Linked DNA regions of Homo sapiens: all the other regions are linked to region 1. The links are contacts of gene promoters, found by promoter capture Hi-C in human tissues and cell types (Jung and others, 2019). All regions are on one chromosome and are shown on one strand. Each heading gives the region's core, a stretch centred on a gene start or on the middle of the fragment in contact. The rest is flanking DNA. Distances are from core to core; before and after follow the strand shown. Region 1 holds the start of CCDC167 (coiled-coil domain containing 167). Region 2 overlaps CMTR1 (cap methyltransferase 1). Region 3 overlaps CMTR1 (cap methyltransferase 1).

What was found. Contacts are between HindIII fragments. The study calls those that stand out against the background at their distance.
Region 2: a contact is called between a fragment that was not itself captured here and the fragment with the promoter of CCDC167 in region 1, in 6 of the 25 tissues and cell types used here (IMR-90 fibroblasts, aorta, dorsolateral prefrontal cortex and 3 more).
Region 3: a contact is called between a fragment that was not itself captured here and the fragment with the promoter of CCDC167 in region 1, in 2 of the 25 tissues and cell types used here (IMR-90 fibroblasts and mesenchymal stem cells).

Annotation. Positions count from the first base shown.
Region 1 is chr6:37,498,439-37,501,499 of GRCh38, forward strand. It overlaps CCDC167 (coiled-coil domain containing 167), which reads right to left and starts at 1,455. Exons shown (of 4, transcript NM_138493.3): 1 at 1,384-1,455. The coding sequence starts at 1,425. RefSeq lists an enhancer at 1,448-1,647. The HindIII fragment of the contact is 4,936 bases long and covers 1-3,061 here.
Region 2 is chr6:37,435,842-37,438,902 of GRCh38, forward strand. The region is part of intron 2 of CMTR1 (cap methyltransferase 1); the gene reads left to right. Among named protein-coding and RNA genes, the nearest start is that of CMTR1, 4.2 kb to the left of the region's middle. The HindIII fragment of the contact is 3,637 bases long and covers 1-3,061 here.
Region 3 is chr6:37,452,806-37,455,866 of GRCh38, forward strand. CMTR1 (cap methyltransferase 1) reads left to right here. Exons shown (of 24, transcript NM_015050.3): 7 at 242-336; 8 at 435-507. Among named protein-coding and RNA genes, the nearest start is that of CMTR1, 21 kb to the left of the region's middle. The HindIII fragment of the contact is 3,738 bases long and covers 1-3,061 here.

The DNA.
Region 1 (3,061 bases), core at 205-2,704:
TCCTACCAAGTGGGCCAATATTTCTCAAGGGATGCCACTAAAACTACCCACATCACCATGGGGTGTGTGTGGCTTGTAAAAAAAAAAAAAATGCAGATTCTGGCCGGCTGTGGTGGCTCATGCCTGTAATCCCAGCACTTTGGGAGGCTAAGGCGGGCGGGCAGATCACTTGAGGTCAAGAGTTCAAGACCAGCCTGGCCAACACGGTGAAACCCCGTCTCTACAAAAATACAAAAATTAGCCAGGCATGGTGGCACGTGCCTGTAATCCCAGCTACTCGGGAGGCTGAGGCACGAGAATCGCTTGAACCCAGAAGGCAGAGTTTACAGTGAGCCGAGATCACGCCACTGCACTTCAGCCTGGACAACAGAGCGAGACTCTGTCTTAAAAAAAAAAAAGCAGATTCCTTGTTAAGAATGCACATCAAAGTCCTACTGAATTACTCGGGGTGTGGGAAGAGTTCAACTCTCCATTTTTAACAAGCCCTGTGACTCTATGCATGCTAAAGTTTGAGAATCACTGAACTCACTAGTAAGCCTGAAGAAGACTATGACCCTGTACCTCTCCTGCAACCTCCGGGAGGATGCCCTAAGGGAAGGAAAACAGGGGAAGCAAGATGAATTTCCAGGAAGACCACCTGTGCTTGATTCCCAGGCTCCACCACTTCCACCATCTCAGCCTGGGTTCCACCTGGAACCTCAATTTCCTCATCTGTACAAACCTCACAGGCTTGCAGTGAGGATTAACAATGCAATGAAAGTAGCACATAGCGGTTGCTCAGTATGTATGTTTTCTTTCCCTTCTATATGCAGCAAATTATTTTTAAGCCATTCAGTGACATCACCAATTCCAGAATTCTCTTTACATATTCCCAAAGTAATTTTGAAGGTACAAGCTTCCATACTCCGGAGGAAAAATTTCCCCTTTTAGAGGATATTTAAACCATTAATAATATACACCAGAATGGGCTCCCTCATCTTTGAGTCCTAGCCCTTTGGGAGTTCTCCTTAGATTCTACAGGTCCCTATTTCTCTGGGGTCTCCCTCACCTCTGTACCCATCCCTTTTGTTCTGTGTCCCCCGCTTTGAGTTCCCTCACTTCTATGCCAGGCCGTCTTTGGGGCTCCCCTTCACTTCCATGTCTCTTCCTCTCTGGAGATGCCCTCTCCAGAGAGTCTGGTTCGCCCATCCGGCACCTCCTCGGGCTCCCTGTCCTCCGGGAACCCCGTGGGCCTTCTCACCCCTCCCGTCCCTCTCCCCAAACCGCGTCGCCCTCTCATCCTACGCTTGGCTCCTCCTCCTATCTATAGCCCAGCCTATCCCTTATCCCGCGGCCAGGAGAAGGCAACTAACGAGGTGGCCCAACCCCCACTTTTCCCCTCACCTCTAGAGCGACGCCCAGATTCTCCCGCTTCTTTTTAGTCATGTTACTTGCCGGGATCCCCCAGTCATCACTGGACGCGCCCACCAAGTCGCTATGTGCGCATGCTCAAGTCTTCGTGCTTCTCCCTCATTGGCCACCGAGTCAGCGGGAGGTGGGGCTGCTGCCGTCGCCATCTTGTTGAGGGGCGCGGCCGGCTTGGTGCGGACATGTTTATGAGGGGCAACCTCTAGCTTGAGACCTCAGCCTAGATGGGTGGAGGGTGGAAAAGTCGGTACAGGGAGGCAGAATGTACAGCCCGGGAGTAGACCTGCCCCTTTCTTCCCCAGTTTTAAGCCGCTTTGCATCACTGAGAGCCTTTTTTAACCCCATGTTCTCTTTCAGTGTGTTTTGTGTTTCAGCAACAACCCCGTCCCTGTTTAGGCCACGCCCCCCATTCAAAGTCTGTCCATCCTTCAAGGCCGGTGCTGGAGCCTTGAGCTTCTCGGCCAATGGAATCTGATAATGGCCCTCTATTGTTATTTCTCCTTTGTGTCTTGACTTCTTTTTTTTTTTTTTTTTGGTTTGTTTTATTGTAAGAACAACCTACAAACATCACAGAAAACATATAACTGAGAAGCAGCATCCTTTATTCTACCAACTTTATCAGTTCCTCTTTGCTTCTGTTTATTCCTCCCAGGCTTGGCCTCACACACAGTATTTTACATTGTTGTAATCGTACTATACTGTACACCATAGACCCACGGCCTTTGAAATGTTTTGACTGTGACCCTACGATAAAAAAATGTATTTTATACCATGGCCCAGTTACCCATGAAACCAAAACCAAAGTTTCACAGTAAGTACCTTTACCTCCTGTAATGCACTCTGTTATTTTGTATTCTTGCCTATTTAATTAAAAAAAAACAAAGTCGGGCACGGTGGCTCAGGCCTGTAATCCTGTGTCTGGAGTTGGTTCCTTCAGGTGGGTTCTTGGTCTCACTGACTTCACGGTGAGTGTTACAGCTCTTAAAGGTAGCACGGACCCAGAGAGTGAGCAGCAGCAGGATTTATTGTGAAGAGCAAAAGAACAAAGCTCCCACATCATGGAAGGGGACCTGAGTGGGTTGCCACTGTTGACTGGGGGATGGCCAGCTTTTATTCCCTTATTTGTCCCCTGTTACAGAGCACTGACTGGTCCATTTTACAGAGTGCTGATTGGTGCATTTACAGTCCTTTAGCTAGACACAGAGTGCTGATTGGTGCATTTTTACAGAGTGCAGATTGGTGCATTTACAATCCTTTAGCTAGACACAGAGCGCTGATTGGTGCGTTTTTACAGAGCACTGACTGGTGCATTTACAATCCCTAGGTAGACACAGAGTGCTTATTGGTGCATTATAATCCTTTAGCTAGACACAGAGCGCTGATTGGTGGGTTTTTACAGAGTGCTGATTGGCGCATTTACAATCCTTTAGCTAGACACAGAACGCTGATTGGTGCGTTTACAATTGTCTAGCTAGACAGAAAAGTTCTCCAAGTCCCCACTCAACCCAGGAAGTCCAGCTGGCTTTACCTCTCAATCCCAGCACTTTGGGAGGCTGGGCAGATCACGAGGTCAGTAATTTGAGACCAGCCTGGCCAACGTGGTGAAAGCCCGTCTCTACTAAAAATACAAAAATTAGCTGGGCGTGGTGGTGGG
Region 2 (3,061 bases), core at 225-2,724, 63 kb before region 1:
TATAGTCCACTGCCCCTTGGTCCCTTGAGGAAAATTAGGAATACTCTACAGAGAGATGTTGGCTATAGACTCTTTTCCCTTCTGCCATTCTCCTACTAAGAGTGGGGAAACTTGTTTTAAATAAAAAATGGTAATTTTTCCAGAAGTTGCTTTCTGTTGGTTGTCCTTCAGTAGGTGGCACTCTTGCTGCCTTAAACCAGTTAGAAGTAGTGGTGAGCATTGAGTGCTGTGTGCCCTTAATAGCTGTTAATTATCCTGGGGCTCTTTTGTAAGGGAGGGCCTCTTTGCTGCGGCCGTCGAGCCTAATTTTCACTTTTTTTGCATGCATACCGTTTTCTCAATTCCTTCAGCGGTTGTGGTCAGAAGTATCCAACTACTGGAGCATTGCTGCGTTCACTGTTTGCATTAAGCGTCGAAGATTTCACTAATCTGGTTGAAACTAGCATTTTGCTTTGCCTGTCTTTTAGGGTTATTCACAGTTTCCATAGATGCTTTCTGAGGAATGGTAAAATGTCTGGGAGCTTGCCTCAAATACCTCAAGGTAAATTTGCATTTACCTTGACTTGCCAGCTGTATTAGTTTCTTAGGGCTACTGTAACAAATTACTACAAACTGGGTGACCCAAAACAACAGACATTTATTCTCTCACAGCTCTGGAGGCTAGTAGTCCAAAATCAAAGTGTTGGTGGGGCCATGTTCCCTCAAAGGCTCTTGGGAAGACCTTCCTTACCACTTCTAGCTTCTGCTGGCTGCTAGCATTCCTTGGTGTTCCTTGGCTTGTGGTAGCATAACTCCAATCTCTGCCTCTACCTTTCCTCTGTGTGTGTCTGTATCCAAATTTCCCTCTTCTTATAAGGACATCGGTCATTGGATAGGGCCCACTGTAATCTAGTATTACATTTGATGTAATCTGGAAAGACCCTATTTCCAAATTAGGTCACATTTACAGGCTTTGGGGAGGATACCATATTCAACCCAGCACACCAGCAGGCTTGCATATTGGATCCTCTGTTGGATCACTGGGAAACTGGAATGAAATTTCATAACAGATTGGTGACTGAAAGGGTGTGAAGCACCCTTTGAAGGTAGTAGGAAATACAGTTTATTCACAAGTGATAAGCTTATTGAAGGGCAGTTACTCATCAGCTGCTACTGAGAAGCTGGTCCAGAGAGAAGCTTGACAGGTGGTACAGCGAATGGAGCATCGGTGTCGCTGTAGTCCAGGCTAGATAAGAGAGTCAGTTGCAGCTTTGTATGTGGAGGTGTTCACGCCTTTAAAGCAAGCTTGTCCAACCTGTGGCCCAGGATTGCTTTGAATGGGACCCAACATAAATTTGTAAACTTTCTTAAAACATTATGAGATTTTTGGGGGATTTTTTTTTTTTTTTTAAAGCTCATCAGCTGGCCAGGCGCGGTGGCTCACAGTTGTAATCCCGGCACTTTGGGAGGCTAAGGTGGGCGGATCACGAGGTCAGGAGATCGAGACCATCCTGGCTAACACAGTGAAACCCCATCTCTACTAAAAAACAGAAAAAAGTAGCCGGGCGTGGTGGCAGGCGCCTGTACTCCCAGCTACTCGGGAGGCTGAGGCAGGAGAATGGCGTGAACCCGGGAGGCAGAGCTTGCAGTGAGCCGAGATTGTGCCACTGCACTACACGGAGCAAGAGTCCGTCTCAAAAAAAAAAAAAAAAAGCTCATCAGCTGTTGTTAGTGTATTTTATGTGTGGCCCAAGACAATTCTTCCAGTGTGGCCCAAGGACGCCAAAAGATTGGACACCTCTGCTTCAAAGTCACAGTAGATTCCAGGGTAGGTAGGAATTGAAGTTCCTGAGTAAGAAGGCAAAAACTTACTGCACGCGATGGTTCTGGAGATTCTTGAGGAAAGGGAATTTTACCTCTCACCTGGAATTTGAGCAGCTTGGTGAAGATAGAATCTCCTTGGGTAGGGGTATTGGGAGAGATGGCTTGTAAGGGAAAAAGAGAGAGTATGTCTGGGGAACAAGTGATATCTGGTTCTAAGTGGATCTTGGGGGACATTTGCTCTCAAGTAACATCTCTTTGAAGTAAGGAAAGGACAAGTCCCAGGTAAAAGAAGGTAAGTGTATAAGGGTAAGGATCCTTCAAGGAAACCGTTCTGATTTAAATTTCAAGCTTTTGTGACTGAATTGAGATTACTCTTCCCCCTTCTCTGGAAGTGGTACTATATGACTCAGTCAGGATTGACTATTGCTGTTGTGTGTGTAGAATGGAAATCCAGGCTGGGCATGGCGGCTTATGCCTGTAATTCTAATACTTTCGGAGGTCAAGGTGGGCGGATTGCTTGAGCCCAGGAGTTTGAGACCAGCCTGGGGAACATGGTGAAAACCCACCTCTGCAAAAAATACAGATATTAGCTGGGCATGGTGGCATGCACCTGTAGACCCAGCTACTCGGGAGACTGAGGTGGGAGGATCACTTGAGCCTAGGAGGTAGAGGTTGCACTGAGCCAAGATTATGCCACTGCACTCCAGCCTGGGCATCAGAACAAGACCCTATCTCAAAAAGAAAAAAAAAAGAATGGAAATCCAGAGGTGTCCAGTTCCTTGTATGTGTCTGGCAAGAGGCCACTTCGTCCTTTCATTTGCAGAAAATGAGATGGGAGGCAGAGGCAAACCAACATTTCTAGATTTCCCTAGGTTAATTTATTTTAGGAAGGGGCAGCTCTGCATTGACACAGAAACTGAGGGCAGTATCTTTATCAGCAAGACTGCTCCCTGTGCCTTCTTTCCCACCATGCCTAGCCTGGAGCAAAAGCTCAGTAAATAGTTACTGAATAGAACTGATAAAAGGCAACAATAGTATCTTTTCCAAGAAGCTTAAAATGCGTCACAGTTTTCATTTTGCCTGTCTCCTCCAGTCTGCAGAAGATCATTTCATTAAGTACTTAGCATTTATATCACCTATGTTCTGTATCTAATTCTCTTAGGTGTCCCCCGGACAGTATACCCTGGTGGTTTGCTGTCTACATATCCCCTGAAATGTATATGCAGCTTTCCTATTCAAATCATTCTATTAAAGCAGA
Region 3 (3,061 bases), core at 328-2,827, 46 kb before region 1:
GTTTTTTAAACACTTGCCATGTGCCAGGCACCTGTTTACATTTTTTTTTTTTAACCAATTTACCGGCAAGGTAGTTGAGAGAGTTATTGAGCAGCCTGTGTAGGGTCACACAGTGAGACATTTCAGAGCTGAGATGCCACAGGAATCTTGTTCCTTGGAGGGCTGTGAGTTGGGCACTGCAGGGTCTTAAGGTCCCTTTCCTATCCTGGAATTCACCTTGAGGTTCTGATTCTCTGGGCAGAGCGTGTTTGATGTCTTGGATGGGGAAGAGATGCGGCGAGCTCGGACTCGGGCCAATCCCTATGAGATGATCCGAGGAGTCTTCTTTCTAAACAGGTTTGCTGACATTTCCCTCCCCTCCCCTGATGCTCCCTGCTCTACCTTTTCAATTGAGCCTAGTACATCTAGTACTTTTCTGTCTTGCTTTATTGCAGGGCAGCAATGAAGATGGCTAACATGGATTTTGTATTTGATCGCATGTTCACAAATCCGCGGGACTCTTATGGGGTGAGAACAAGATTCTGCTTCTGAATTCATGGTGCTAAGAGGGCTTAAGTTTCAGTGGCTCAGCCATTGCCATTTGTTCAATGCTAGGAGAGTATTCTGACTGTGTGATGGAGATACTTTGCTTTGAGCTCCTCAGATAGGGTCCCACAGTGCTTCTGTGGTCCCAGGAGTGAAGCAGTTGTCTTCAGGGCTTCAGTCCTGGAATCCGAGCCACTAACCCTACAGAAGGTAGAGTGGAAGGGTGAATACTGTTTTTATATAGCAAGCTTATTTTCCAAATTGAAACTTGGTGACATCACCTGATTTGGGTGCTGTTTCTGGTAATGAGAGGGGAATATGGTTTGAGTGTTGGATGAAATGTGGGCATTTCAGTGGGCATTTTCATTGATCTATTTAAAATCAGTGTTGTATCTGAAAATCTAGCCTGTGTTGTTGGAATGTGGTGAGGAGGGACATGACATAGCATTTATGAAGCAGGATGGATTACTTAAGTTTATACCTTCTTTGGGCCTCAGCTCCCTCATTCTGAAATGAGCCGTACTAACCTGCCAGAGGGCTAGGGTAGAACCAAAAGGCTCTTAAGATTTGTCCCAGCACTAAGACTGTAATTTTAGACTGGGCCACTTTCCTTCTCTGCCTCTCTGAACAAGCTTTGCGTGGGATCATAATTATAAGGCTTTGGCCCTTTTCAAGAAGTGGTAAAGCAAAGTGAGTTTCTACTCTGCTGCATCTCATTTCTCTGAACATAGACTCGCCATAGTGATAGAGAAAGAAAAAAAGGAAATTTCATTCTAGAATTCCCTTCAGGGTTTCAAAGCATTTTTACCCGGTCCTAGAAAGTTACTTTTCTTTGACAGTGATAGGGCCAGGAGCCAGCTATCCCCAAACCTGTTTCTGCTTCACTCACCCTCATTCCACTAGACCCCCTGATTATCCACTGGCTAAAGAAACTTGTTTTCCAAGTTCTTTAATGTTTCAGCTCCACCTACCTAACTGCTTCCTCCTTGCTGGCAAAACTGGCATGTAGCCCCTCCAGCCATTACTCATTTTTCACTCCCAGGTCTCCCTTCCCATTCTCCAGTACCAGCAGGCAGCACAAAAGGGCTCTTGGAATTAGCATCTTGAGAAAATTAGGTTGATATAATGTTGATTTAATTTTCTGAGCTCCAAATGATTTCCTTTAAACCCCTGCCTGGCAGAGGAGCTCTGTCAAGCTGATGGGAAGTCACAGTGTCTTTTTTGGCTTTTGTATACAAATGCCTCCAGCAGCTGGTATCTGGTTATTGCCTTTTGCTGTCATGAAAATGAAGTAGGCACCAGGGTTGTACCATTCAGGTTGAGGGTAGAGGTGTTAGTTACATAGGAAAAGGCAGCCGTGTTTGTAATGCTTCAGGCAGCTTCTTGACCTGAATTGATTGTTAGTGGCCACGGAGAATTGCCCTTTCAGAGATGTTTCTCTATGCTTCACTATAAAAAAAGTGATTTCTCTCGAGCCCCTGGTGTTTTATTTTCTCTTTTCATTTCCGTTTTCCCCTGAGGACCAGAGTTACAGCCAAGCCCCACAGGCTTGGTGTGGTTTTCAGGCCAGCAGAGACACTAGAGCAGTCCCCAGCAGAAGAGGGAGTGGCTGAAGGCCCAGGCACACACCCATGTTTGCTAGGGTCATAATGGCTCTTGGATCAGGCAAATTATAGACTAAGAGCAGGAGAATTTGAAGCTTGGAATGTGAAGATGTTAAGAGGTGATGACAAGTGATGGAGAGAGCAGACTGAAGTTTTTTTTTTTTTTCGAGACGGAGTTTCGCTGTTGTTGCCCAGGCTGGAGTGCGATGGCGCGATCTCAGCTCACCTCAACCTCCGCCTCTCGGGTTCACGTGATTCTCCTGCCTCAGCCTCCCAAGTACTGGGATTACAGGCATGTGCCACCATGTCTGGCTAATTTTGTATTTTTAGTGGAGACGGGGTTTCTCCACGTCAGGCTGGTATTAAACTCCCGACCTAAGGTGATCCGCCTGCCTTGGCCTCCCAAAGTGTTGGGATTGCACGCGTGAGCTACCGCGCCCAGCCAACTCTGAAGTTTTTAAGTAGGTCTGTGGTGCTGCAGGTTATGGTAAAGGAGAAAGGGGGCAAGGGGAGGAAAATAAAGAAGCTATAAGCAAGAACTGGAAGAGACAAAGGACGGAGGGAAATTTAGATCCTTGGAGTATATGGAAGCATATTATAAACTGTTACATTATGTCAGGGGTTCGAGTGCCTGGGAATGTTGTTGAGACAAGAATACATTGTCTGTGAAGCATTGCAGAAGACAACTGAAGGTAGATCTCTAAGTTTCAGTCCTAGCTGAGGAAATTAGACATCATTTGTCTAATTTCCATTGAGTGTGCAGTGCTGCTGTACTCGCCACTGGAAAGAGAAAAACATGGAAAAGGATAAGAGTTTTGACTCTGAGGAAGTTGATCTGATTGAGTACAATATCATCTTGCATTAATTGTTTAATACTTTACAGTTTGTAAAGCTCTTCAATATAGGATACTTTATTTAGTCCTACAACGGCC